Regions from separate parts of the Homo sapiens genome. Here region 2 is linked to region 1. Evidence: promoter capture Hi-C in 16 types of primary human blood cells and fetal thymus (Javierre and others, 2016). All regions are on one chromosome and are shown on one strand. The core of a region is centred on a gene start or on the middle of the fragment in contact, and the rest is flanking DNA. Distances in the headings are between cores, read along the strand shown.

What was found. The method cuts DNA at HindIII sites, captures the fragments that hold promoters and counts their contacts. A CHiCAGO score of 5 or more calls a contact.
Region 2: a fragment that was not itself captured here is called in contact with the fragment with the promoter of UNC5CL in region 1 in 1 of 17 cell types (neutrophils); the score reaches 10.0 in neutrophils.

Annotation. Positions count from the first base shown.
Region 1 is chr6:41,035,365-41,043,237 of GRCh38, forward strand. It overlaps UNC5CL (unc-5 family C-terminal like), which reads right to left and starts at 3,857. Exons shown (of 9, transcript NM_173561.3): 1 at 3,798-3,857. It overlaps TSPO2 (translocator protein 2), which reads left to right and starts at 7,103. Exons shown (of 4, transcript NM_001010873.3): 1 at 7,103-7,414; 2 at 7,602-7,794. The coding sequence starts at 7,622. The HindIII fragment of the contact is 17,483 bases long and covers 1-7,873 here.
Region 2 is chr6:41,308,822-41,316,694 of GRCh38, forward strand. No RefSeq gene overlaps it. Among named protein-coding and RNA genes, the nearest start is that of NCR2, 23 kb to the right of the region's middle. The HindIII fragment of the contact is 1,620 bases long and covers 2,563-4,182 here.

The sequences.
Region 1 (7,873 bases), core at 2,607-5,106:
AGAGAACATGAGTTCAAATGTCACCTTGGTCACTGTGGCTGGGTAAACTTATCATATTGATGTAAGGCAGGAGAGCCCCAAAATTGGGGCTTAGTTTGGGAGGGTTTGTGGCTTCACCTAGGCAAGAATTCAAGGGTGAGCCAGTGGTGTCAGACAGCAACTTTCACTAAAGTGGCAGAGTATAGCAGCAGCAGAGGTATGCTCCTTACAGAGCAGAGCTAACCCTAGGCAGTGTGCCCAGGGTAGCAGCTCTGGGGCATTTCTGCCATCATATTTATGTCCACTTTTAATTACATGCAGTAAGGGGTGGGTTATTCAGAAATTTCTAGAAAAAGGAGTGGTAGCTTCGGGTCACTGCCATGGAAAGGGGCAGTAACTTCCAGGCATCGCCATGGCAGTGGTAAACTGTCATGGCACTGGTGGGCATGTCTTATGGAGAGGTGCTTTTGGTGCCTTTTCCCTGTTTCAGCCAGTTTTCTATCTGGCCTGGAATCAAATCCCACCTCCTGCCTCAATACTGCTTAATGTACCTCAGTTTCCTCATCTGTCCAAATATCTACCTTGATCTACAAGTGCTGATACAAAAAAATCTATAAGTGGAAAAAGCAAGTCGCAGAGAGATAAAATATTCTGAGCTCATTAATGTGAAAAACAAAACTGCATATAAATAGATACATATTTATGGGTGCATATATGGAAATGTAAAGGTATAGAGAAAGGTCTGGAGCAGTGGTGTACAATAAAAATGTAATGTGAACTACACATGTAATTTTAAATTTCCTGATGGCCACATTAAAAAGAACAGGAGAAATTAATACATTTTATTTAACCCAATATATTCAAAATGTTATTTCAACAGGTAATCGATATAAAATTATGAGATATTTTTACTTTCTTCCTTCATACCCAGTCTTTGAAATCCATGTGTAATTTATATGAACAGAACAGCTCACTTGGGACTGGCTGTATTTCAAGTGCCCAGTAGCCACGTGTACTAATGAATCCGGTCTTAGACTGTGCAGGTCTGGAAGGACACACCCCCAAACTATTCCCATGAGTCACAACAAATTGAGAAGGTGGAAGGTGTGAATAAAAACTTTGTATTTTTTTAAATCCTTTTCTCTGTACTTTGAATTTTTCACATCAAGCATGTAGTTTGTATTAACTTTGTAATTCTTTTCTGAAGCTATTAAAAGTGGGGAAAAAGTGCCTCTTTGTGTAATGGTGAGGATGGCATAAGGTCATGTGAAAAGTATTTGTAGATGAGAAAGCACTGTCCAAATGTATGTGTTTCTTTATGCCCCTCCTTCTGCCAGAAAGGCCTGAAGGTAGCTCACAGGGATAGGCAACATACAACAAGAACAACAAAAGCTAAAAGTGGAAGCAAAAAAAAAAAAAAATGAAGAAGACAAAACACAAAGATGCAGCCCTACAGTGAAGCTGGAATGAGGCAGGGCAAAAGCATACACTCACCTCCTGCTCACCTGGCTACCCAGCCAGGCCACAGGCTGAGACTTCCCAGTAGCTCTTCCTGAGGCCCTCCAGAACCCACCTCCGCCTCCTCCTACTTCCCCTCTTCCAGCCCCTACAATTTCCAACACGCCTGCCCTGTAGCCTGCCCAGGCTCCCCACACCTGCTTAATTCTAGCCTCTGGCTTTTGCTCATGCTGTTTTCTGTTTCTCCACTCACTTGCTCTCCCCACTTGTTTCCTCTCCCTACGTGGATCCTCCCATTCAATAGTGCCTCCCGCTGGTGCACCGGCCTTTGACAGCCTCCAGCTCGCGAAATCTCTCTCCACAGCCATCCCACCATACTGAGTCACTCTTGATTATGTGCTGTCATGTGTGATTTTCCCACTCAAATGAACATTTTCTAAGCACCGGCTGTGTATCGGACACTGTGGGAAGTTCAATCCTGCCAAAGATGACGTCTTATTCCGCTCTCAAGGAGCTTCTGCAGGAATGGAATTCATTGGCTTGGTAGCTGAGTTCTGTGAGGCACAACGTCCTCCTTCAGAGCCCTGGGAGGCCCCTCTGGTTGACTCACTAGAGGCTGCACTGGAAGAGCTTCCAGTATCCAGTCCTCCCCACGCCCTTCACTTGCACTACCCACCTGGAACTGAGGCTTGGCCCACCTTCTTCCTTCCAACCTCAGGACCCATGAAAACTGAAGCCCCTTCCTAGTGCCTCTTAGACCAGGGCAGAACCTCCACTGTATCCTCAGGATTGAAGACTGGGGCAGTACCTGTTTCTCCCATGTCCTCACTGAAAGTGTGAATAAGAAGCGGGGGTTGGCATTGTTCTCTTTGCCTAAAGAGCCAACCCAGCAGACAATGCACCAGCCTTTTTCAACCAGGCATCCTGGAGGGCACACAGGTGAATCAGTGAATTGGCAGTGTCCCAAAGCTGATGGGAAGGGGGTTGGAGCAGCAAGCTACCGTTGATGTCCCATCATTTCTTTTGGTTCTTTCACATTAGTAATAATTATAATTCCAACTGTAATAACAATAGCTAACATTCGCAGAGCTTTACTCAATGCCACTGTGTTAAAGCACTCTCCATGGCTTGTCTCATCTCATCCTCACAGCAGCCTTAGGAGCGAGGTGTTATTTTTATCTCCATTTCACAGATAAGGAATCCGAGCTTTCTCCCCACAGTGAAGATGGATAGGGAATTACTAAACAACTGAAGACAGGCAGGAAGGAGGAGCAAAGACGAACAAGGACTTCCAGAGATACCCCCTTTCTCTCTCCACCCCTTCTTTTCCCCAAGTATCTTCCTTTCCTTCTCTAGAAGAAATAAAGTTGGAAGAGAAAGAAGCAAAAATGAAGTAAAGACAAATAGAAGGACCTAAATTTACATCCTCAGTTATGTGGTAATACCCACCCCACTACACCACACCCCCACCTACCAAGGTACCAGTGGCAGGGGATGGAATTGCTAAAGGGATGAAAGGAGGGGCCCCAGCTCGCTTACACAGCAGTAACCTTCCTGGGGCCACCAAAGACCAGAGTCCAGATCCCCAGTGAGGTGCACCTCACTGGGTGGTGCAGTAGAGTCCCCTGGCTCAACCTCCGACCCTGGAGAAGTTGGCATGCACCACTCCCAAAGCCCCACTGGGCCTCTCCCAGGGTGACTGCTCTTCCAGGCTGCCCTGGCCCTCACTGCATCCTCCCTCTGGCTCCAGAATGGGGAAAGGTCCGGAGTCTTGCTGAATGGCAACTATAGCACTGCAGCCATTCGAGTGTGACTTGGGGCATCCCAACCCCATGCCTGGACTCCTCATTACCCACTCCTCCAGTCTGTCTTGCTCCAGACCCCAGATCACCCTGGGTAGCGGGTCCCCGAAACGAGAGTCCTTTAGAATGCTGCCATCACCTGTCCCTAGGCAGTTGCATCCTCCAGCACAAAGATCCAAACTCCTGCTGCAAAGTTCTGCTCATACCCTTTAAGAAAACTCTCAACCTTTCCTCCACCTCACTGGTTCTCCCTGTGCCTCCCCAACACCTGATAGATGTCCAGTTACTGCAGAACATAACAAGTACTGGGATGGATGGTCCAAACCCAAGTCATGAATGGCATTTGTTAGTATAGTAGACATTTCCGCAGGACACAGAATCATCCCAGTGGTCCTCATACCCATTGGCCAAGTCCCATTTTCCTCCCCTCCTCCAGCAGAGGGTCCCTACACTCCAGCAGGCAGGCTAAGCTGGCCTGGCTCCTCCCCCGAAGCTCCAGGTAACCCCATCACAATGCCCATCCCCTCTCCAGCTGCCCCAAGGGGGTGCTCAACTTACCGTCTAGGAGCTCTTAGAGGCTGCTGGCTGGTCCAGTTCCTTCTCCGAGAAACAAGGGTCAGCCAGATTCAGTCGGCAGGCCAGCAGACAAGTGGAGGTGGGCGGGGAATCCAGGCAGGAGTGGCCTGGCATTTCCTGGCAGAGCCCTGCCTCCCAGCTGTCTAAAGAGGGGTGAGGGAGAGTGTCCCTGTCTATTGGCAAAGTCCAGCCCAGGTAAGGGATTAGCTGAGGATCCCAGAAGTCAGTGAACTTTCCAGTCTAGGTCTGGAAGGAAGGAGGGAGGCAGGGAGACAACCTGGGTGTAGGTGCTGCACCTTGAAACCCCTCCTTACAGTGCCCTCTGCTGGTGAGTGGCTGTCCCCAGCCAGAGGCTATTATTAAAATAGCAGATAGGAGGAGGAGGGAACCTTCATCTGAGTTTCTTAAACTATAATGTGCACAACAGTCACCTGGGAGATCTTGTTAAAATGCAGGCTCTGATTCTGTAGGTCTAGTATGGGGCCTGAGATTCTGCAGCTCAAAGAAGCTCCCAGCTGATGCCAATGCAACCGGTCCAAGGAGCTTAGAGAGCATCTAGTTCCACCCGCTCCCCACACAGAGAAGACAGTGGAGCCACTGAGACGGTTAATGACTCACCAGTTGCTGGTGGACCTGAGATGTACCCATATTTTTCCTTACACAAGGTGCTTTCTACTTCCCCCACCCAAAGTTGGCAGAGACACTGCCGGTTGGGAGACAACTGAACTTTGGGGCCATTTGCCATTCTGAGTTCTTAAAACTCTGCCTAGGAGCGGTGGCACCACAAGAATGAAAACTCCTTGTGGAACTTTTCCCATGTTTTCGGCTGTCTCCTCAGCTCCTGGTACAGCCTGATAGATAGAAGGTGTTCAATAAACATGTCTTGAATGAATGAGTGAAGCAGTTGAGAGGGAAAAGGATGCATTTTGGCTCCAACTGGCCAACACTGAGCCCAGGTGAGCCACACGTTGGGTATGTAATATTGGGCAAGCTACTTAACTCCTCTGAACCTCAATTCCCTTGTCTGTCAAATGCAGTTAAGAATATCTACCTTGTGTGAGATAATAATTGTCATTATTGAGCTAATAAATGTCAAATGCCCACCACAGAATGGGTGGTCAATAGATGGTAACCGTTGTCACCAGGGTCTGGCCTCCTGCAGTTGAGGAGGCATGGTGAACGCCCCCCCAGGCCCCTAGTTATCATCTCCCATAGAAAATAAGTAACTTCCTCTGCTTTTGTCTCAGTTAATAATTCTCTAGCCTCTTGTCTCTGACTGCAATGCCCTCCCCTCTGCTTCCTTCCCTGGTGGAGGTGAGAGGGTGGAATAAACCTCCCAGGGGAGCCCAGTACCCCAAAGTGCAGAGATGGTAGAGAGCGGGCAACCTGGGAAGCAGACCTCATGCCTAAAGACAAGCCAGGAAGGGGTGCTCAGAACTTTGATAGGGAATGAAAGGAGTGGGGTAGGGGTGTTTGTCTTTGTTGAACAAAGCTCTGTCTGAGTCACACAGGAGGCTGGACTTTGCCAACAGACAGGGACACTCTCCCCTACCCCTCTTTAGGGCGGCTGGGAGGCAGGACTTTCTGCCAGGAAGCGCCAGGTCACTCCTCCTTGACTCCCCACCCACCTCCACTTGTCAGCTGCCTTCTCCTCTGAGTCATAAAGTCCTAGGGGTTTGTGAAAGATCTGTCAAGCTAGGGTTCTAAGCCAGGAAGGTCATGCCAACCAGGAGGCTATAACCAGGGGCTGTGTTCATGGATTATGAACTCACTTCCCAAGCTAGTTCTTGCCACTCTTGGGGACAATCCCAATTATAAGGAGGCTCTGAAGAAATGTGAAGGCTCCTACCACTCACTCCCATGGCCACAGAGCTGGTTCATGGGATGCAAAGACCACAGGCATCAACAGCATTATAACTGGGGGCTGAGCTGTCACAGGAGGGCCAGTGTCAAACCCTCACCACAAGCCCTCAAACATTCCATCAAGGGGTAGCCTCCAGAGGCCAGGCACCAAGGAGGGTCTGGCAGACCAGAGGGGCTCCTCCTGAGAGGAACTCTTTGGGGCCATGAAACAGCAACTTGGACTTCCCAGCCAGTGTCACCACCCTTCTCATCTGAGAAAGGCAGATCAGCAGGGAGCACCACTCCACCCTCCTCCCAGCCCCACCCTCCTCCCAGCCCCACCCTCCTCTGCCTTCCACACATCATATGTCATCAGGCCCCCCGCCTGGGAGGTGTGCTGCCAGAGGTAAGGGGAGCACAGGCCTAGGAACCAGGAGGCACTGGGAGAGGCAGGTGTCAGGAGAAAAGAGGATGGGGGCAGGGAGGGGCAGGGAGGGGGCCTCCACCACTGGACAGAAATGTAGAAAAACAGGAAGGCAGAAGATGAGCAAACGGACAGTCAGGAGCACAGAAAGACAAGTAGAAATATGCACAGGTGGGCATGCTGCTCAGCTCTGTCCCAGAACCTCCAGGACCAGTGTCCCTGACCCTTGACAGAAAAGGATGGATTAGGGCCAGGCACAGTGGCTCATGCCTGTAATCCCAGCACTTTGGGAGGCCAAGGCGGGTGGATCACCTGAGGTCAGGAGTTCGAGACCAGCCTGACCAACATGGCAAAACCCCATCTCTACTAAAAATACAAAATTAGCCGGGCATGGTGGCGCACGCCTGTAATCCCAGCTACTAGGGAGGCTGAGACAGGAGAATCACTTGAACTAGGGAGGCAGAGGTTGCAGTGAGCCGAGATTGCACCACTGCACTCCAGCCTGGACAACAAGAGTGAAACTCTGTATGAAAAGAAAAAAAAAAAAAGGATGGATTAGATAGTCAGTCCAGAATACTGAAAATAATCAGATTGTTTTCTCTCCTTCAAATCTGGTTAATCATGGGGGGAGGCTGAAATATCATGAACAAATGAGAAGAATGATATTTGTGGGGCCTTGGTGGGGCCTTGGCTGGAGGAGGGTCTGTACATTGTCCCACATGCAAATGACATGCAAAGCAACATGCCACCTTGGCAGCTTTTTAATCAAAGACCAGGCAGTTGTTTCCTTGAAAAGTCAGGCCACAAGAAACCTGGATGCTTGTGCTTACATCCTGACACTCTGGGAATGGAAAGATGGAGCAGGAAGCTCATACCCCATGGCTCCAGGGGTAGAAGAGAGCTAAAAGTTCAGAAAAAGGAATCCACGGTGTCAACAGGCCAAGTTTGAATTTGGGCAGGAGATCAGCCTGGGTGGGCCCCATGAGTGTGCCAGTCTGATATGGTGAGATAAGCCTGGGACAGATGTGCTGCCGCATTCGTGACTAGAAAAGAGTCCCCAGGAATTTCTGGCTCCTGCCTTCAGATTGTGAACTTTCCAGGTTGGTAGATCAGCTTAGGTAGAACAGTTCTCGGTGAGGGCCAGCTACATACCTGGCTAAGCGCTGCCCACTGCAGAAAAGCTCATCACCCGGGACCTGATCTCCAGGACTCAGAAGCACTTGGAGGAAGGCCTATTCACTTAGAAGCAGTTACCAGTGCTGGGCAGTGTCCTCCAAGTGCCAGAGGAGTGCTGTGGAGAAAAGAAGTCCATGGAAGCCAGGAGATGGGCAAGGTGTGGCCTGGGGTTGGAGAGAGCTCAGAGGTACAGGACTGGAGCTGGGCCAGGGAGAGAGGAAGGACCTCCGTGAGTAGACCTTCTCTGAGGGGCTCAGGCCAGGAAATGAGTCAGGTTAGGAGGCAGAGACAGACGAGGAGCCGCAGGGGAAGGCTCATCACTAGCATGTTCTCTGCCTCCCCAGATTTTGCCTCTTCAAGGTGAATGCGGCTTCAAGGGGCTATCTTTGTGCTCCTGCCCCACCTGGGGCCCATCCTGGTCTGGCTGTTCACTCGTGATCACATGTCTGGTTGGTGTGAGGGCCCGAGGATGCTGTCCTGGTGCCCATTCTACAAAGTCTTATTGCTTGTACAGACAGCCATCTACTCTGTCGTGGGGTGAGTACTTGTTTCTCACACATGGCCCTGGTACCCAATGGGGTGGGAACAAGTCCTCTATATCTGAATTACTCCCATA
Region 2 (7,873 bases), core at 2,123-4,622, 270 kb after region 1:
AAGTCTAGAATGACCAAGGCTTAAATTTACATCCAGTGGTGGTGGGAGTGGGACCAGGGCCTCTTCTCTCTTTTTCCTTTAGACTGTAGGACATCTGAAAGAATATCAAAGCAGTTGTCTACTAGTCTTCCCAGGCTTGGAGACACTGCTTCAGTCACCATCAGTTACTTCTATCATTCCAAAGTGTGCACTAAGAATTCCCCTCTATATGCTCCTAATTGTTTTGCTCCATATTTCACAGCTGCCCAAGCAAGTCATGCTCAGAGACCATTTGATTTCAGGAGCTTCTACTGCTCCCGGGACTGAGGACTGACTGCCCAGGGCTTTCCAGAGCCCCCACCACCAAGTCCATTCTGAGTTAAGGGTTAGGAATACTCTGAGCCATTGTTGTGATTGGTCTTCTCAGAGAGATCTCTGGACTGTCACCAGGCACCCTGAGGACACAGGAGAGAGTGACCAGAGTATTGATCACTGGTCATAGGAAGACGGATTTCCTCTTATTGTCCTTGTTCATGGACCCCTGGGCTGAAAGAAAGGAACAGAGACAGAGCAGGAAAGAGGAAGATCAGGAAGCAGGAACAGAGTCAGAGGAAAATTGCAGGCTTGATGGGAAGGGGCAGGCTTGGGGGGCTCTAGAGTTATTGATTTTTCAGCTTGATCAACTTTTACTTGTTAGGATGGAGTGACAATTTTCAAGCTCCTTACTTGCCAGACTGGGAGCTGGAAATCCTATTGTTTTTTACATGCATTTAACTTTAATCAAGTTACCATAACACCTCACTGACTCCAAAATAAGTTTCTATCTCAGCATGGCATTCTTTCTCCACGGACTGACCCACCCACCACTCAACCTTATCACTTCTTATGCTTTTCTAAGAAAATAGCATGGGACCTACAAAAGAGTAAAAAACTGTCAAGATTTTGAAGAATGCTCTATCCATTCCAGCCTTGCAGCCTCAAACATGCAAAAGTCAGCCACACGTGTTTGTTCTGTTGTGTGATTTAACCCTACATGTAGAAATGGAAATGGAAGAGAATATGACATGAGAAAACCAAAGGACATAGCAGTATTATATGTTCCTAAATGAAGCTGAGTTTATGTGTGTGTGTGCAGGAATGTGCCTTCACGTATAGCTCACAGGTATGCATGTGCATTTGTGTACCTATGTGTGTGCGTGTATGTGGGTTAGCATGCATGTGTATATGTGAGTGTGTCTGAGTATTCTTACCCCCAATGCTCCAAACATAACATTGATTAAAGTCCACAGTGAGTGAGCTGAGTTTGTGGGGTCCTCTGTAAAACAGAAGGAAAAATCCATTTTCAACGAGAGAGGGATGTTTGTGAGCTCCCCAAGAACACGCTGGTGGTCCTAGGGCAGCAGGATGGTAACCTCCAGGGTTCTTGACAACAACGGACCAGGGAAGCCAATAAAGGATCTGTCAGTGGTCTCCAGGGCCTGCAGGCAGTGCCTCTGGCAGGCCATGCTCTCTGGTCACTGGGAAGATGGACCCTTGAGAAGGTCACAGCCATCCTCTAGGCTCAGCTCCACCTTGGTGAGTGTCCCATAAGGTCAAGCCACCCTCACGGGATAGAATATGAGCTCTCCAAGCCAATTTCCAAGACCCTTGGGCTCTCCTTTTCTCAGGTACCTCCAGTCCCAGGAGTGGTGGGGGGAAGCAGCAGACCCCAGTATTCTGGCCTGGGAGTCACATAGCCTCTAGAGAGCTCACCAGAGCAGAGTAGTTTAGCAAAAGTCAACTTCCCATTCCCTTCAGGATCAGTTTGCCTATTGAGAAATGTTTCTGGGAAACCTATTTACCAAGTGGAATGGTTTCATACAAAATACTACGGGTATAGCTCTTCTAAAGATTTTTTCAATCCCTTAGGTATCTTTTTCTATTGGATATAATTTTAAGGAGTGCCCACAAATACATTTTGAACTAGTTTTTACTTATTTTTCTACTTACACTAAGTACTTATCCAACTTTTAGTATAACATATGCAAGTTATCAGACTTCATTAACCCTTGTTGAGTGGTCTAGCCTTTTTTGGGGTTAAAAAAATTATTTTCTGGGCCAGGTACAGTGAGTCATACCTGTATCCCAGCACTTTGGGAGGCCGAGGCAGGAGGATCACTTGAGCTCAGGAATTTGAGGCCAGCCTGGGCAACATAGGGAGACTCCATCTTTACAAAAAAAAAAATTAAAAATTAGTCAAGCAAGGTGACACATGCCTGTAGTCCCAGCTACTCAGGAGGCTGAGGTGGGAGGATCAGCTGAACCCAGAAAGTCAAGGCTGCAGTGAACTGTGATTGTGCCACTGCACTCCAGCCTGGGCAACAAAGCAAGACCCTGTCTCAAAAAATATATATTATTTTCTGTATGACATGGCTGTATTAAAAATAAATGAATAAAATGAGGAAAGAAATATATAGATTCATTTACACTTCTACCGTAGTTTTCATGACACCTAAATCACAGTGCCATTGCTGTGGAGTCCCTTGCTTGCATTTATAATCCAACTCGGCCTCTTATGAGCTGCCTGAGTTGAGTGATTTACAAAGCTTCTCTAAGTCTCCATTTCTCAGTTCTAAGTGTTTAGTGGCTCCCTCATTGGGTGTTTTGAAGATTAAATGAACTAACCCTTTCAAAGCACTTACAGCAGAGCCTGGTACACACTAAATAAATACTCAACTAATTCCAATTTAGGAAATACTTATTACCTACTGCTATACATCAAGCACTGTTCTAGGACTGGGGATATGGGAATACAAGGTAAACGAAGACCCTGTCCTCATAGAGCTTCCATTCTCATGGAAGGATGGAGACAAAAAAGTGAGCCATACGTCACATGGGGACAACTGCTACAGAGGGAAAGGGTGGTGGAGAGAGAGAAGGTGCACAGGGTTTGTGCTACAGCAACTCAGATAAGCTGGAACTGCATTTCTGAGGATCCACTTACCTCTATGGCTCTGTGTTGGGTTTGCAAGAGAAACTTTCATGAGATTTGGAAGGCAGAGGTGAAGTGGCAGGTGCGATGTTCTGAAGGTTAGTGTAGGTGCTAGGGTCTCTCAGGTGCATTGTTGCTCAACTCACCTTGTTGACATGGGCAGCACCTGCCTGTAGCTCCTCCTACTCAGCCTCCCTGAGTCCTGCCCAGCACATGTGCAGCTTTGCAGCCAAGCAGCAGAAAAGACAGAAATGAAGGCAGAGAGGCAGAGCTACAAGGTGCTCACAAATACCTATTTTCTTCTCTTCCTAGATGCTCAGGTAGACCCATCTTAGCCCATGCAGTGAGGGCAGAAGTGATGGGCACTGTTCCAGACCTGGCCTATAAACACACCCATGTGCCATACTTTCTCTTTTCTCATCCACTCCTGGAGGCAAAGAACTCTGAAGACCTGGAGGTCAGCAGAGCCACAGGACAGAAAGCCTGGGCCCCTGAATGGTCCTGCGGAGTCACCATCCATTAGACGAGTAAGAAATCAACTTTTACTCTCTGAGATTTGGAACTATACTGTTAAAGGAGCTAAGATTATCTTAGTTAAGATAGGCAGAAATCAAATAAATAGAGAAATATATGTGTGAAAGAGAGAAGAGGGAGTGAAGAAGAAACAAAATAAAATACTGCCCTTGAAAAAAAAAAAAAGAACAAGATATACAAATCTGTAGAAAGACTAATCAAGAGACAAGTTTAAAAGTGCAAAGAGAAAATAAAGAGAACAGGCCAGGCACATTGGCTCACGCCTGTAATCCCAGCACTTTGGGAGGCCGAGGTGGGTGGATCACTTGAGGTCAGGAATTTGAGACCAGCCTGGCCAACATGGTGAAACCCTGTCGCTACTAAAAACACAAAAAATCAGCCAGGCCTGGTGATGCACGCCTGCAATCCCAGCTACTCAGGAGGCTGAGGTGGGAGAATTGCTTGAACCCAAGAGACAGGGGAGGTTACAGTGAGCCAAGATTGCGCCACTGCACTCCAGCCTAGGCAACAGAGTGAGACTCTGTCTCAAAAGAAAAAAAGAAAAGAAAAGAGAACAAATGAGAAATACCTGAACACCCAAAAGAGACTTTCACAATAACAATACTATGAATAATCATACACTAATAAATTGAATAACTTAAATAAAATGGATACATTTCTGGAAGATATAAAATATTAAAATTGGTGTTGAGATTAAAAGCTTGACTAGAGCAACAACAATTCAAAAATCAACATCCAGTCATATAACCATCTCAGCTGCTAGAGAGGTGAGGGGAGGGCAACTTCAGGCACAGAAGAATTTTCAAGGTATAGATATTTCTTAATTCATACAATTTATTCCAGGAAATAGAAAAGAGGGGAGAAGCTGCTCATATAATTTCTGTGGCTAGAACAATATTAATACCAAAACCACACAAGGACCAAATAAGAATAATGGGTTATCAGCCCATTTTTATTTATGATCATAGATTCTGTAATCTAAGATCATCGTTCAGATTCTCAGGGAAAGATGGCAGATGGAACATACACCTTTATTTCTGTTCGCTCCTAAAACCCACAAAAATGAACATAAAGAAATGCAGGAAACATAGGAACGAGGGAAACTAGAAGGTAAAATAGCAAGAAAATTTGGGGAGCTGAAAAAAATATATAAGTAAGTGGGAAATGACTTAGAAGTGAGAAAACAGAACCTTTCATCAGAGTTGAGGAAGGCAGAAGTCAAGTCTTATTTACACAACAGTATTGCCAAGATGGCTGAGAAAGTGGAGGTGGTTTAGGGGAGTCCGATTAAGAAGAAATGGTAGAAAGTTGTTTAAGAAGCAATGAGGAACCCAGATCCCCTTGCCACTTTCTGTAGATGAGCGACCTTGACCCACCTTGGCAGACAACTGGGAATGAATGCCTTAGAGAGGTTGCAAAGAAGGCTGGGTTTCTGTGTGTGGTAGGGAAGGGGTGGGCAATAGGTATAGGTGAGGATGGTGACAATGTCCTGAAAACCATGGGATTATGTGAAGAACATGTACCAGAAGCTGAGAAACACTCCAGCCCTCTTCTCCTATTTGGATTCCAGAAAGTTGGCAGCCAGATCTTCTTCCTCCAGACAAGAGATGGGGTGAGTCTTCCCTGGGGATCCTGAGCAGCCCAAGAGAGAAGGCTGAATGATATTGACAAGGCACTTCCTCAAGCAAATGGCCAAGGAGTCACCCTCCTGTGAAACTCCCAGGGCACCAGCCCCACTGTGGGCTCACAGCATCCAATTATCTTTAGAATTTTGTTACCCAGGCCTGAGAAAAAGCTCTCAAGTGAAAGAGAAGAAAGAAACTAAACAGAGAATAGTGAAGGCAACTGGGAAGAAACAGAGACCACCTAAGGAACCATAAATAAAAACAGAAAACTTTTTCTCCAAGGGCTGTTTCCAAAACAGAGGGAGGCAGAGAGAGAATGAGAACAACAGAGAAATGGGAGAGAAAAAAAAAGAAAAAGACAACTGATCCAGGAGGTGAATGCTTGAATAAAAGGAGTTCTAGAAAGACAGAACATAGAAAACAGAGAGGGGAAAATCATGCATGAACTAATTCAAGAAATTTTCCTGTGAATTTCTAGATCGAAAAGGCCACTCACTGTGCGGAGCAAAGGGATGGAAATAGACACACTCCAAGGCTCATCCCTGTGACATTCCAGGACACCGAGAACAAAAAGAAAACGCTGATAAAGTGAAGACAACAGATCACATATTGCCATAGTTATCATAATTGCTCCTGACTTTTCAACAACAATAGGAGCAAGAAGGTAACATAGCAATGCCTTCAAAATCCTGAGGACAAATTGTTTCCAACTCAGAATTTTTTATATCAGTCAAACTGTCATGGTAAAACAGGCATTTTTAAATATAAAAGTTGTCAAAATGTATTTTCCATTCCCCCTTTCTCCCGTAGTTACTCAAGGATGGGTTCCACCAGTACAAAGGAGTAAACAAAGATCCAAGAATCAAGAAAACGTTGTAGAGGAGACAAAGAGAAGCCCCAGAAACATGAGGAAGAGACAGCTGTGTACCAACTGGTGGAGGCAGTGCATCCATACAGGGCAAAAAAAGGCTGCAGGCATGACTTTTTAGGAAGATGCTCAACAAAATACTTGCTGAGAAAAAAAAAAACAAAACTTAGAAATGCTGGTTCCAAAACATGTGCTTTTGTTTGTTTGTTTTTTCTTGTTCTGACTTTTAATTCATTACACCACTGCTCTCCAAGAAAAGGCTATCAATTATTCCCTTCCAACAATGCATAAGAATGACTTTTTCCCTACTTCTCCAGGACAGAATATAATTATCATTTATTTTAATCTTTTTTGAACTGTTAAAAAGATAAACTGAGGCACAGTAAAATTTTAAAGAGTTTTGGTGAGTTTTTTTTAGCATGAACAATTTATGAACTGAGCAGCTCCGAACCAGAAATAGTTTGGGAGCTCCACTGAGGAACACAAAGAGGAGACTTTTATAAGACAGACACAGAAGTAAAGCAAAGTATTTAATTGGTTACTGTTATACAATTGCTTTTTTTGGTCTCTCAACTTGGAAAGCCCCTCGTTATCTAAGTTTGTATAAATAGTAACTTCTGATTGGTTGAGCTTAAGTTCTGCTTTTAAAAATATATATATAGATATAGATATATATAGGCATTCACAAGAAATAGCTCAAGTTAAGTTTGGTTATGTTTGCAAATCAAGCAAGGTTTAGGTCACTTACAAATCATAACTTCTTTTGTCCCCTCTGGGATTCTTCAGGTCTGGTCTCCATTTTAATTTACTTTAACAATCCCACCGCGTTGGGTCACCCTCTCAGCAAGCTAAGAAGAAGGTGGTAGCATTCCTCTCAGTTACCACTAGTGAAATAGTCACTGGAACAAAGAGTCATGTAATCTTATCCTCAACAGTTGTATTGGGATATAAGATTACATGGCATCATTACCTGCATCATGGGCTTCAGTGGTAGGGTTGTTGAGTTCTTCAAGTCAATTAATGATGATGGCAATCATTTGATGTGTGAGTGCCTTCTGGAAAGCTTTGAAATCCTTGAGAGGATAAGATATAGTAGGATGGTAAACAAAATGACTACAGAGAGAATAATAGCCAAGGATTTTTAAATTCCCTGGAGCACAGATTCCCAGGAGCCAATATTTCACCAATAAAATAAATCAGTGGAGGAGGCAACACCTGTCTGATAAAAGACATATTTGTTCCTTAAGATCCTTTAAATTGGGCTCAACAATTTCTAATTTATTAATATAGAAACAATATTTTTTTTTACAAATAAGAGCCTCCTTGTTAAGTTGCTAAGGTATCAAGGACTTCTATTTTGGAGTACTATTGAGGTTAAATTGTTTATTTCAGATAGTATTGCTTGAAGGGAATTCAAGGTAGCATTCTATAAAAACAAAAGAAAAAAAAAAGGTTAACATTAGGAACAAATTATGATCTTAGTCTTTAAGTCCAGAGAGCAGCCTGTCAAGATTTCTAAATTTGAGTTTGAAGCATTTTTAGATGATGGAATGAGGATGGCAATTGCAACCTGATGGATTTTCCTGGCTTGCAGTTTGAATGTCTCTGGAAATATCATCAGGTGTTCCAGTGAATTCTCCAAGTGACCCACACAGCAGCAGCATGAAAATTTTCCATACATGGTCTGTTGTAGTAATTTTTCTGAATTTAAAGTCATCCAATTTCAGCTGGCAGGGCTTCGGAAAAAAGCAGTTTTAGTTTCTAGTGAAACTAGAAAATGTTAGGATTCAATCCAATTTACAAGGACATAACAAAGACCAGAATTTGATGATGGGTGCTATAGTTTTCTATTGAAATACAATCTTTTTTATGGTCATTCCAAATTTTTCCAAAAAT